Linked DNA regions of Homo sapiens: regions 1, 2 and 4 are each linked to region 3. The links are contacts of gene promoters, found by promoter capture Hi-C in blood cells and fetal thymus (Javierre and others, 2016). All regions are on one chromosome and are shown on one strand. Each heading gives the region's core, a stretch centred on a gene start or on the middle of the fragment in contact. The rest is flanking DNA. Distances are from core to core; before and after follow the strand shown.

Region 1 (3,252 bases), core at 362-2,861, 330 kb before region 3:
TTCACCTTTTCACAGACAACAGGCTAAAAATGTTTAAGTCCAAATAATGTTGCTCTTTTTCATAAGCTTCAGTGTAAGATTTACTCAAACACAGTGGCTGTCCTCAGACTCATGTTTCTTGGATAACTCTATTTCTTTGTTCTGTGTTCTTTTGTAACATTGTTTTAATAATTCCTTTGAGCCCAAGCCTTTTATCATAAGCTGCCTCAGATCTTTTTGAAAGTAGGCAGTGTTTAAAATCTACGGATGACTTTCGCCAGGGGTACTGGACTAGCTCTCCTGCCATAAACAACTATAAAATTGTACACGATGTATCAGGCAGTTGTTTTCAGACCCTGGACAAACCTCAGGACTGTGGTCCCTAAGGGCATGGATACTCACAAGGTGAGCCCATCATCACCATGCCTCTGTTTGGGGACAGTTTCCTGATGGAGACGTAAGAGCTGAGGTCCGGGCAGAACGTTACTATCTGAGCCAAGGAGGCAGAGATCAGAGATGCGGGCTGTGGCTGTGGCTACATCTGCAGAGCCAGGTGCTAGAGAGGGGGACTGCATGGTGACGGTCCTCAGAAGCCTACACCGGCTTTCCTGTGGGATCTGTGCTGGCCCAGCGTGTACAGAACAAGGCCACGAAAGGCTTATCAGAGGGTGGCTGGCATCCTGGCAGAGCTAGGGGGAAGAAGTCTCATTAACACATGAAGCAGCCAACAGAGATGCCAGGAAGCCCATGACACAGGAGGATGGAGAAGCCCTAGAGCAAGGCCTCCAAACCCACCCCAGCTAAGACAGAATCCACAGAGGAGGCTGAAGGTGCCCACTGAGTTCTTCCAAGTGAGAAGGGATATTGGAAAATGCCTTGGGCTTTCCGTAGTTGTTTACTCAACTAAGCATGAAACCAAGCCGACCCAAGTTCAAGATGACGAGTCTGCCACTGAACTGCCTGCTAAAATAAGAATCAACCCTCTCCAAAGGAACACAACACAATCCAGTCTCTTTAATGTGTCATCTACAAGGTCTAGTATAGGTTAAAAATTACTAGATATGCAAAGAAAGTAAAATGTGACCCATTGACAAGAAAAAAATGAGTCCATTGAAACAGACATCAAGGTGGAAGTGAGAAGCAGGAGGTGTCAGGTGTAAATCAGCATGATATGAATCTGATCAGACTCTGAGCACTCAGAGTCCACTCAGAGGCATACTGATATTCCAGGGCAACCATTCCAAGAGCAAATACAGAGAAGTGGATCTAAAGAAGTCAGCAGAGGACATAACATGGAATACTCGGGCTTCCTGGCTGGAGGCCTAAGGAAAGGATCCCTGGAAACTAGAGAGTGTGACAGGAAATCTCAGAGAGGTGAGAGCTGAACAAGGGGATCCCCCAGTTCTGTGTATGAGTCAACACAAGTCCTGGAGTTACCACATATGAGGAACACACCTAAACAATTATAGTTAAGGGCTTGAAAACCGCTGTGATATAAACGATCTCCAAGATCTAAGCCTGCCCCTGAATGGCACTTTCATGTGGAATGGCTGAACAGCAAAAGACCCAAAAACAGGCCTGCATTGGAACCACCACGGACAGACAGTGAGACAAAAGCGGCAGCTCTGACCAAGCGGGCTGCCTCTCCAGAGGATTCTAACATAACCCAAAGAACCACAACAAAATTCAAAATGTTCAGGAATTAATTCAAAATTACTTAACAGAAAAAGAACCATGGAAATGGGACTAACTCTCAAGGAAAAGAGAATCAATATATGCCACCCTCAAGATGACCCAGAGGATGGATTTACCAGACAAAGACTTTAAAGCAGGCATTACAACCATGCTCCTTGAGGTAAAGGTAACTCTCTTGAAATAAATGGAAAAATGAAAGTTCTTAAAAGACAAAAAGAAACTATATTAAAAGAACCAATAAAAATTCTAGAATTAAATACTATAACACTATCCAACAAATTGACCTTCATAGAATAATATACCCAGCAATGATAGCACAGCACATTCTGCTCAAGTGTGCATGTGACATTCACCAGAATAGACCATTATCCTAAACCATGAAACAAGCATTCACAAAATTAGGAATTTAAATCATGCACATTTGTTCTCTAAACATAATAGGGTTAAATTAGAAATGGATAAAAAAGTAATATCTGGAAAATCCCAAACATTTGGAAACTAAACAACACATTTGTAAATAACACAAAGGTTAAAGAGGGAATCTCAAGATATAAAAAAATTTTGATCTAAATTAGAATACAATGTTCAAAAATTTTGAGATGCCACTAAAGCATTAATTAGGAGGATGTTTATAGCATTTCATGTTTATGTTAGAAAAGAATAAAGATCTTAAATCAATAATCCAAGCTCCCACCTTAGGAAATCTAGGAAAAGAAGAGCAAATTAAACCCAAAGCAAGCAGAAAAAGGAAATGAAGAAAGAAATATAAATAAATAAAATTGAAAGCTAAAAGACAATAGAAAAAAAATCAATGAAATCAAAAGCTCATTCTTGAAAAAGAACAATAATGTTAATAAAATCCTAGCCATATTGCCCAAGGAGAAAAGAGAGAAGTCACAGATTACCAATATTAGAAATGAACAAGGAGACACTATTACTGACCCCACAGACATTAAAAGGATGATGACAGAATACCACAAATAAATCTATGCTCTAAAATTTGACAAAATAGATTATATGGACCAATTCCTCAAAAGATACAAATTACTAACACTTACTCAAGGAGAAATATATAACCTGAATATTCCTTTATCTTTTAAAATAATTTGTCTTGTGAGATGGAGTCTCGCTCTGTCACCTAGGCTGGTGTGCAGTGGCGTGATCTCGGTTCATTGCAACCTCCACCTCCCGAGTTAAAGCGATTCTCCTGCCTTAGCCTCCCGAGTTGCCAGGACTACAGGTGCCCACCACCACACCTGGCTAAGTTTTGTATTTTTAGTAGAGACAGGGTTTCATCCTGTTGGCCAGGCTGGTCTCAAACTCCTGACCTCAGGTGATCCACCCTCCTTGGCCTCCCACGGTGCTGGGATTACAGGCCTGAACCACTACACCTGGTTTCTTTGAAAAGAATTGAATTTATAAAAACCTTCCTACAAAACTCCAGGCCCGGATGGTTTTGCTGGACAATCTACCAAAGCTTTAAAGAGGAAATCATGCCAATTCTACACAACCTCTGACAGAAAACACAAAAGGAACAAGAACCTCCCAGCTCATGTTATGAGGCCAGAAAACCAGATG
Region 2 (3,399 bases), core at 340-2,839, 260 kb after region 3:
TTGAGTCTACTAACCCCTAACCAGCAGGCTTCCAGGAGCGCCCAAGTCTCTTTCTAGCAAGCCTCTAGGGGCAGAGGTGGGTGGGACAGCAGCCTCTAACTGGTAAGACACAACTCCTGCTAACTCCTGGGCCTACTCTGGGCCTCAGCTTCTCTAACTGGGCTCTCCTGTAATAAGTGTAGTGAGGTTCCATGGCTGCAAGTGAGTGCATAGCCCTGGCATACTCAACAAGCTCCTGAAGCCACGCAGGAGACGGGCTTCAAAAGGAGACACTCCCTGTTTGGAATGAGTGCGTTCTTCTACACATGAAGTTCCCTGTGACCTAAGCAGCGTTTCAGACGCGTCTAGACACTTCAAGAACCCCTGGGAGCCTAGCGCCAGATCCAGCACACACACGGGCTTAGGCAGACGTGGCTCCACGGGCACTTTTCTCTGAGAGGCAGGGGAAGTGCACTCCCCGTCTTCTCTGGGTGATGAAGACAAAGAAACTCTGGACCACCCGCTGCCTCAACAACCTCAGAGATTCTGACTCTAAAGAGCCCCCCTCCTGTAAGTCCTCCAGCGGCCACAGCCGGTTACGAGCACCCACAGGCGGCTGTCACCAAAAGGTAAGCCCCACAGTGGGAAGGTCAGGATAGAGCAGGAGAACCGTTTAAACCGGGGCATCTGGCTGCCAACGGATGCTTCTGCCTTGGCAGGAGGCCGCATTAGGACGCGGTATTTGTTCAGGATCAAGGCCCCAGCTGTCTAATAAGTTCCAGAAAGGCTTGCAGGATTCGCGTGTTGTGACCCCACCCCCAGCCTTCGGGAGACGCCGGGACACTGGCCCCGCCACCCGACCTCGAGGCTCCCCCGCAGGGATCCCCCCAGGCTGGCGGGGAGGAGGCCCGCTGACGGGAGCCGCCCTGCTCCTCGGAGCTGGCACCTGCAGAGGTGGGCTGGGCGGCCGAGGGGGCGGCACCGCGGGGGCCGGGCCCGCCCCTCACCAAACACCGCCGGGCGCCCGCGCACAATCCCGCCGCCCTGGGAGCCCAGGGAGACCATTGTGCGGCCGGCTACGCTGGGGGAGGGTGGCGCGCGGGAAGGGGGCGCCTCGGGGGCGTCCGGGGTGAAGGCGCGGGCAGGGGATCTCGGGCCGGGTGTGCCCTGGGTGGGTTCTGGGCGGGGTCTGGGCGCCAGGCTCCGGGGCGCCCCGGGGCGGGGAGGGCACCGCAGGCCGGGGCTGTTGGCGGACGGGGGTCAGCGGGCTCGGGCGGGCGGCGGCCGCTACCTTTGGCGAGCGCCACGGTGGAGTTGTCGGTGTCGATGGTGTAGAGAATGCCCTCGTAGCGGATCTGCGCCTTGGAGATGAGGCTGATCTTGCTGCCCAGATACGGGGTGCCTGAGGAGCCGCTCATGGCGGCGGCCGGGGTGCGTCGGGCCGCGGTGGGGAAGGAGCGCCGGGCCGCGGCCCGCTCCGCCGCCGCGCGGTGGCCTGGCCGCCCGCTCCTGCGCTCCTCCGCCCGCCGCCGCCTCCGCCTGGGCGCCTCCTCGCCACCGCCCGAGGGGCCTGCGCGGGCACCGAGCGAACCAAGAAGGGGCGCGCGACTGGGGCTCTGAGAGGAGCGCGGGGGAGGAGGGGCCGCCGCAGCCACATCCGGGGCCTCGCGCCGCCACGCACCGCCACGCACCGCCCCTTCACGCTCGCCGCCCATTGGCTCGCCGCGCCCGCCGTCCTTTAAATATGGCCGGGCCGCCAGCTGGGGGGCGGGCCCTCGCGTCGTTCCTGCGCAGCAAGGCGCCGCTGGCCGGGGGCGGGTCTCCCCGGCGATCCGCCCCACCCTCGGCCGGCTCCCGGCGGGCCCCTCGCGGAGCTGGGAGCACGAGACTGAGCGGGCGGGGGGAGGGGTGGGAAGCGGCCCGGGAGGAGCGCGCGTGCGCGTGGGCGGGCGGCTGCGGTTTGCACGCTCAGTGGGCGGGACCGGGGAGGAGCGCCAGGCCCCGCCCGCGCGCGTGCCGGCGCCGCCCCGGACCCTGGGCGCCGCGAACACGGGGGCTTTGCCCCCTTGGCCTCAGTTTCCCCTCCTACAGAAGTGGGGTCCGGACGACTCCCCTATCTTGGGCCAGATGCGCCTATAGCCCTCACCCTCATGGGGGACCGGGGAGTGGCGGAGGCCCTGGGCGCCGGGTGTTCCCGGGCAGCCCCGGGACTCCCGCCCCAGTGCCCAGGTGCCGGCGGGGGGCGGGCGCGGCGGCAGCTCCCGGGAAGGCGGCGCTTCCGGCGTGGCAGCCTCTAAATATAACATGCTGAGCACACTTTCTCTTTTAATCCTGCCCCTCCTCCCAAAGCCTGCCGCAGCTTTCCATTTCCCTTAAAATAAATTCTGACTGGCTACCGGGGGCCTCGGAGCCTCCGCTCGTACCCGGGGCTGCGGCCCGGAGGCCTTGCCCACCTCCCCGGCCGTGGAGGAAGCTCGGCCGCCCGCCGTCGCTTAGCTGCGGGCCCTCCTCGCGTATACTCCGCGTGATTAGTGACCGAGGGCGCGCGGTGTGTGCTTTTTTTGCTTCCGTCTTGACCGTGAACATCATCAGATCACGGACCAATATTGGGTCCTGGAAAAAAAAAGTAGTGGGTGGTGACTATAAAAATGCAATAGGCTGGGCGCGGTGGCTCACGCCTGTAATCCCAACACTTTGGGAGGCGGAGGCGGGCGGATCACTTGAGGTGAGGAGTTCAAGACCAGCCTGGGCAAAATGGTGAAACCCTGTCTCTACTCTAAAAATACAAAAAAACTAGCCGGGCGTGGTGACAGACACGTGTAATCCCCAGCTACTCGGGAGTCTGAGGCAGGAGAATCGCTTGAGCCTGAGACGTGAAGATTGCAGTCAGCAGAGATCTCACCACTGCATTCCAGCCTGGGCGACAGAGCTAGACCCCGTCTCAAGAAAAATAATAATAAAAATGAAATAGAATAAGCTAGAAGATATCAGATGGCGTGGTGGGTGGCTCATGCCTGTAATCTCAGCACTCTGGGAGGCCGAAGCGGGAAGATCACTGGAGGCCAGGAGTTTGAGATCAGCCTGGGCGACATATGGAGACCCCATCTCTACAAAAAAAAAAAAAACTTTAAAAAAAATTGGGCGAGTGTGGGGGCACATACTTGTAGTTCCAGCTCCTGGGGAGGTGGAGGCAGAGGCGGGAGGATCACTTGAGCCCAGGAGTTGGAGGCTGCAATGAGCTGTGATTGGACTACTGCACGCAGGGGTGGCAGCAAGACCCTATTTCTAAAGGAAAAAAAGAAAATAATAGTATCTCGCATGGTGAAAGTAAGTATTATTTTGTGAAATATTTAATTCACCTGTTTGTGTAAGTGTGGACTTGGTAAGGACCTAGAATGTGTTTCTGACTATAATAAGAAG
Region 3 (3,211 bases), core at 1-2,500:
CCATCGGCCTTGGCCAATCGGAGAATGGAATCATCTGACTCACCCTTAAGAAAAAAAAAAAAGCACACTAAGAATATTTCCACTCCGGCTGCCTGAGATGGCAGAAGGTCAGCTGTGCCACCAGCCCACGTCTCTCCCCCGCTGAGCGAATGGAGACAGGCGCAGAAGGGGAGCCACCTCTCCCGGGGCAGCCTGCAGCCTGACTATGGTGGAGCGGGGTCGGGGGGGCACCTCCTAGTGAGAGGCAGAGTCTGCTGCCTGAGTGTCTTCTCAGAGCACCCCTCTTCCACCCTCAAGAAGCGGCAGGCGGCCAGCCCAGTCCAGCTGGCTCAAACTACTCTGCCAGCAGATCTACTCAGGCACCATCACACACTCCAATGCGCACGGTAAAGTCCACGATGTCCCGAAGTGATGAGCAAAGCCCAGGGAAACACTCACCATCCTACGAATGGCCCCGCAGATAGCATAAGTTTTAAACTGGCCATTAAACCTGCCTGTGACCTTGTCAACCTAGAAAGAGAAGAAGGGTCACAAACCACTCCCCCAGGTTTGGGAAACACCAATCCTCAAAGCCAGCCTCTGCCTGTACCTTCACCCCAGGGGCTCCTCCACAATGGGACAGCCTGCCTTTCCCGCACATATATCACAACCTTCCCGCCTCCCGGGCTCCCAGCTCACCTCGGCCACGTTCATCTGGATGGATGCGTGGTCCTTGGCACCGATGATGCGATTGCTAGCGGAGCTGTGGAGAAAGGGCGCAGTGAGCAGAGGGGACTTGGGCGGTAAGAATGAAAGAGGGGACGAGGGAGGTTGGGGGTATATGAATGGAAAAGAGTAACGTCGGGGGCAGGACAAGTTAGGGACGTGACGAGGTAAGGACGGGAGGGGTGTGGGGGAACAAGGGCAGGCGAGGGGACGTGGTGGTTAGGTAAGGACGGAAGAGAGGCATGTGGGGGGCGCTTACCATTTCCGCGGCACGTACAGGTCCACGAACTCGCCGGCGTCGTTCTGCATTTCGAGGCTGGGCTGCGCCTGGGGAGTCACCGCGCGGCGCCGTGAGTACGGCCGGAACCGTGCCCCGGCTCCCGGCGCAAACCGGCCCCTAGGGTCACGGCCCCAGCCGCACCCAGCACCCCGCACCCCGTCCCCCGCGTCCAAGCCCCCACTCCCGCCCCAGCCCCAGCCCTGAGCCCGAAGCCCGCGCCGCGCGCCACACCTGCTGCCACCACACCGCGCGCGAGAGAGAAAGGAAGCAGCTAGTCACCCGGCAGAGATATCGGCGGGCAAGGAGGGGCCTCGGCGAGCGCTTCCGGGTCACGCCACCACAGCGAGTCTGCGCGGTGCGTGCTTGCCGGCCGTCGCCGTGACGCACTTCCGCTTCCGGCAAGGAGGTTCTCGGACCCCAGCCTGCTGGCCCTGGGGCGCGGGGCGTCGTGGGGGTCGTTGTCGTTGAGGGTCGTTGCCGTGTGTGGCGTCTTAGCCTGGCCCCTGGGTTGTGCCCCACGGACGCAGTCGACCCCTCTGAGCGCCTCGGGAGCCCCGAATAGCAGCTGGGAGAAGGGGCGAGGACTGAGCCTCGCTGCCCGCTGCCGGCCGGGCTAGAGATACGGGCGTGCCCCCCATTGTGCGCCTCCCGCCCTCCGGTCCCCTCACCCTGCGGCCACCTGGGGCGTGGGGCGGTGCTCCTGCCCGTGCACGTAGCCGCTGCGAGCGGAGGCCTGCTCACCTGGTGCCTGCTACTCACTCCCCCGGGCCGGTGGGCGAAGGACACCCGCAGGAACTCGGCAGAGGAGAAATTCAGACGGCTCCCGAGGGTAGGAAAAGACCCCGGCCCACCGTGGAATCTGAAACACCCGACCACTCTGCCATCCCATGTTTCACCAGTCAGACCCCCAGGGCAGGGCAGGGGAAGCAGAATGCAAACTGGGGCACCGTTTCCCTGAAGCGTGTTGGCCGCGTTTGTCGTAGTGCTAGAGGTGCATACCCTTGGACCCCGAAAACCCATTCCTGGGAATTTGCTCCAAGGAAGTAAAGATGTTACAAAGATGGACCCACGAAGTATGGTCGTTGGTTATGGGTGGGGTCTTGAGGAAGGCCTTGTTAGTAGCCTGAACCCTGTTGCCAGGAGAAGCTCCAAACCGGTAGACGGAGGGAGCAGCGCGGCCTATGTTGGGGTCTTCTCTGGGCGGGGGACATGATCCTAGGATGTAGAACTAGCCTCAGAAAACTTAAGACTCAGTGGCCAGGTGCGGTGGCTCAGGCCTGTAATCCCAGCGCTTTGGGCGGAGGTGGGTGGATCACCTGAGGTCAGGAGTTCGAGACCCGTCTGGCCAACATGGTGAAACCCCATCTCTACTAAAAATACAAAAAATTAGCTGGGCGTGGTGGCAGGCGCCTGTAGTCCCAGCTACTCGGAAGGCTGAGGCAGGAGAATGGCGTGAACCCGGGAGGCGGAGCTTGTAGTGAGCTGAGATCCCGCCACTGCACTCCAGCCTGGGCGACAGAGCAAGACTGCGTCTCAAAAAAAAAAAGTTTTTTTATGTTTAATTTTTTGGGTACATAGTGGGTGTGTACATTTATGGGGCACATGAGATATTTTCATACCGGCATGCAGTGCGTAGTAATCACATGGGGTATATGGAGCATCCATCACCTCAAGCATTTATCCTTTGCGTTACAAATAATCCAATACTATACTCTTTTAGTCATTTTAAAATGTGCAATTAAATCATTATTGACTGTAGACACCCTGTTGTGCTATCAAACACTAGGTCTTATTCTTTCTGTCTTTTTATACCCATTAACCATCCCCATTTGCCCCCCTCCTCCCACTGTTCTACCCTTCCCAGCCTCTGGTAACCATCTTTCTACTGTCTGTCTCCACAAATTCAATTGTTTTAATTTTTAGCTCCCACAAATAATAGTGCTGTGATAAACATCGTAGCACATGTATCTCTTCCTTTCTTTCTTTTTTTTTTGAGACAAAGTCTCGCTCTGTCACCCAGGCTGGAGTGCAGTGGTGCGATCTCGGCTCACTGCAACTTCTGCCCCCAGAGTTCAAGTGATTCTCCTGCCTCAGCCTCCTCAGTAGCTGGGACTACAGGCATGAGCCACCACACCCGGCCAGGTATCTCTTTCATATACTGATTTCCTTTCTTTTGGGTATATGCCCAGCAGTGGGATTGCTTTATTTATGGCAGCTCTATTCTTA
Region 4 (3,042 bases), core at 502-3,001, 330 kb after region 3:
TTATGTTAATGTAATTGTAATTTGCTGGTTTGAGGTGCCAGAGTTTAGATTTTATTCACTGAGGAAAAATGAGAAAACTCAGTCTTTAGTGAGATTGTTGCAGATGACACAGTTGTCCCAAGATCACGGAAAAGCACTAGTTATGTACAGCTTAGGATAGTCATAACGTCATAGTCAGGTTGTGATTACAGCTGAAAGAAGAAAAAGGTGATTTGACACCCACATTAGCATGTTGGTAAATTGTTGAGAGATCTTTTCAGATCGGTGTAAGGTAAAGAAGCTCATTTCTAAAGGTTATCTTTTGGCCTGGCAAATTCACATTTTCTTCAGTGTATCTTGGTCTATTGTGCTTTCATGCAGAATTTACTCTCCTTTTGCTCTAAGATTTGGCCCAAGTGTAGATTCCCATTCCAGGACAGAAAAGCACTTTCTCACCATGGGCCTTGATCCCTTGGCCTAGGGGGCGTGTGCTTGCTGCATGTTTTAGGATGAGTACTCCCAGGTGAATGTGTGTCTGTGGGTGCTGTCTGGAGCATTGGTTCCCATCTGTGGGGAAAGGGGGAAAATGTCCACTAGCCCTTAATCGCGCTGTTGGGACGGGTTGGATTTGGCGAGTCCAGGCCCATGCTGGGTGGCGGCATGCAGACGGCCACCCCTGAGGTTGCAGGAGCTGTGAGTTCTGGTGGCCAGTGGTGGCAGCCAGTGCTCTGGCACAAGGGACATTCCTAAAAGTTTAGATTTTGTGACTTGAGGGCCCTGTTGCCGTTTGACCTGGGAGGAATATGTTGTTCCTCGGAGCCTTGGCTTACCCAGCTGTAAAGTGGGGTTGCCCTTTTGGTGAAGAATGTGAATTCTGTCAGGTTGGGCCAGATAACATAGCTGTCAGGTGGCGCTCACTATTCCAAACTCTCCCAGTTCCCCTCATTTTTCACTGATTTTCACACATTAATCCAGACTGGATGTTTTCTCAGTGACTGAGGTGTTTGGTGTGGCAGCTGACTGGTTCTGTCAATGGGGAAGTTACCGAGGTCTGAGGTGGGTCACCCTGGGGCGGTGGTTGCCAACATAGGGGAGGGTTGCAGTGGCCTTTGGAGGCCTGGACCTGGGTGGAGGGCTCACTTTAGGCTAGAGGCCTTAATCTGGTGTTTCTTTTGACATACTCAGGTAGGAGTGACATTTGAAAAGAACAAAGAAAAAGAACTTTTGGGGAGCTGTGTAAAGACAGCCCTGGACAGCTCTGCCTAGCATAGGGCAAGGGCGCCGCTCTGGGTCTTCCCTTCCTCCCTGCCCCCTGCCCCGCGGCTGGGGTCGTCACCATCGCCTTCGGGATGAACAGAGTCATCTTGGTGACAGGTTGGGATGGACCTCACCTGCCTTTGGTGTCTCAGAGCTGGTGACCCTCATGGCTTAGTGGCAGCCAGGAGTCGGGGTCCTGTGACGCTCTTAGGAGCCTCTCTCCTCACTGCTTACTGTGCCCGAGCACTGCATTCACAGCAGAGGTCTATGAGTTTGAACAGAGGATGACGTTTGAAGTTCGTTACGGTTGCCCTGGTTCTTAGGGCCTGTGAGAAGCTTTGTAGGAGAGGGTGTCCCGCTTGCTTCTGTGGCAAATGGACCTGAGGCAGGCCCCGGGCGCCTGGGAAGTTGGCCTTCTCCCAGGGCAGAGAGCAGAGCCACCCTGGCTTCCAGGACTGCCCCCGGGCTCCCCGGTGTGCTGTGGAAGTTGCCCCTTAGACATCAGCACAGGGAGGCCGGGAGGCGGCGTCTGGTCAGAGCAGCACAGACCGGGCTCAGCAGAACAGACTGGTGGGCGTGTCCGCATCCCGAAATCAGAGTGGAATGGAGACAGTTCCTGTTCTACCTCCAAAGCCTTTTCTACTGTATAATGTGAGTTTTCTTCCACTTAAGGGATAAATTTGAAGAAAGCTTTTATAAATTGTTGGTTGTAAGTGAGTTGATCAAAGCATAATTAGCAGCTGTGTTTGAGGATCTTGAAGCAGAGGTGTAACAGGGCTCTGGAGAAGCTTGCCTGAGATTTGGGGTAATTTGCAGGGTTCCCGAAGTGCTTTGCTTTTCTTCTTCATGGTGCTCAGTAGGAACCTCCAAGCCCTCGATCATCCAGGAAACAGTTGCTGTTTAGGGTGTTCACCTGTGGTGCCCGGCTCAGGCAGCGTGATGGGGGCGTTTACTTAATCAGGCCTTTGATAGCAATAAAGCAGTTAAATAAAGGGGGCTTTTGGCTGCAGGCCCTTCTGTGCCGAGTGCTGTGCACCTGGGCTTCCTGGACGCTTCTGCTTCCAGGTGGGCCTGCGGTTGCTATGGCATTGTGGTGTCAGCTGCAAACACGTACACAGCTGTTCTTTCCAATTCTTGCGTGGAATAATGAAGTAGAATAAGTGCTGTCAAGTTATGTTCGAAAATGGGGTGCTTAATATTTCCATGGTTGGACCATGAAAGTTTTGAGTGAAAACTTTTGATTTTTACATATCTCAAATGAACATTTGCACCAAAGATGTACAGCTTTCGAAAAACAAAGAGATACATGTTGTCCACCATGAGGCCCCTCTCCCATTTGAGAAAGTACCTGGTGTCCGCTGTTGGTCAGTCCGCGGTGGTCCCAGGCTCTTCTCCAGGCCTGCCTTCTGCCTGGAGCAGGCCATGCTGCAGTGTGCAGGATGATGTAGTGAAGTGCCCCCAGCTTCTCCCACCGTGGGTGTCATGTTGTGGAGCAGAAGTTGTCGTTGGGAACCGCGTGTGAGGGCAGGAGAAATTGTTTGTTGGGAGCCGCATGTGGGGACAGGAGAAGTTGTCTGTTGGGGACTGTGTTTGGGGACTGGAGAGGTTGGCCCCCCGAGCCCCATTGTCTGTGGCCTGGTGTGTAGACCTGTGTCCGTCCTTCCTGAGGTCTTGCTGAGGTTGGCCCCCGAGCCCCATTGTCTGTGGCCTGGTGTGTAGACCTGTGTCCGTCCTTCCTGAGGTCTTGCTGAGGTTGGCCCCCGAGCCCCATTGTCTGTGGCCTGGTGTGTAGACCTGTGTCCGTCC

Evidence for each region. Contacts are between HindIII fragments. The CHiCAGO score rates a contact against its expected background, and 5 or more counts as called.
Region 1: a fragment that was not itself captured here is called in contact with the fragment with the promoter of RPS21 in region 3 in 1 of 17 cell types (M2 macrophages); the score reaches 5.1 in M2 macrophages.
Region 2: a contact is called between the fragment with the promoter of LSM14B here and the fragment with the promoter of RPS21 in region 3, in 1 of 17 cell types (naive CD4 T cells). The highest score is 5.9, in naive CD4 T cells.
Region 4: a fragment that was not itself captured here is called in contact with the fragment with the promoter of RPS21 in region 3 in 1 of 17 cell types (neutrophils); the score reaches 5.1 in neutrophils.

What each region holds. Positions count from the first base shown.
Region 1 is chr20:62,719,837-62,723,088 of GRCh38, reverse strand. The region is part of intron 1 of NTSR1 (neurotensin receptor 1); the gene reads right to left. Among named protein-coding and RNA genes, the nearest start is that of NTSR1, 13 kb to the right of the region's middle. RefSeq lists a silencer at 1,523-1,715. The HindIII fragment of the contact is 3,085 bases long and covers 69-3,153 here.
Region 2 is chr20:62,120,665-62,124,063 of GRCh38, reverse strand. LSM14B (LSM family member 14B) reads right to left here and starts at 1,589. Exons shown (of 9, transcript NM_144703.3): 1 at 1,271-1,589. The coding sequence starts at 1,397. It overlaps LOC105372706 (a long non-coding RNA gene), which reads left to right and starts at 380. Exons shown (of 3, transcript XR_936963.2): 1 at 380-608. RefSeq lists enhancers at 13-700, 701-1,389, 1,390-2,077 and silencers at 741-1,280, 1,441-2,530. The HindIII fragment of the contact is 16,298 bases long and covers 1-3,399 here.
Region 3 is chr20:62,385,142-62,388,352 of GRCh38, reverse strand. RPS21 (ribosomal protein S21) reads right to left here and starts at 1,250. Exons shown (of 6, transcript NM_001024.4): 1 at 1,217-1,250; 2 at 965-1,032; 3 at 679-742; 4 at 439-510; 5 at 1-44. The coding sequence starts at 1,014. It overlaps RPS21-DT (RPS21 divergent transcript), which reads left to right and starts at 1,364. Exons shown (of 1, transcript NR_186459.1): 1 at 1,364-2,050. RefSeq lists enhancers at 401-1,092, 1,093-1,784, 2,063-2,112 and silencers at 973-1,162, 1,593-1,712. The HindIII fragment of the contact is 6,470 bases long and covers 1-3,211 here.
Region 4 is chr20:62,058,798-62,061,839 of GRCh38, reverse strand. All of the region lies in intron 1 of TAF4 (TATA-box binding protein associated factor 4), which reads left to right. Among named protein-coding and RNA genes, the nearest start is that of MIR3195, 4.5 kb to the left of the region's middle. The HindIII fragment of the contact is 354 bases long and covers 1,575-1,928 here.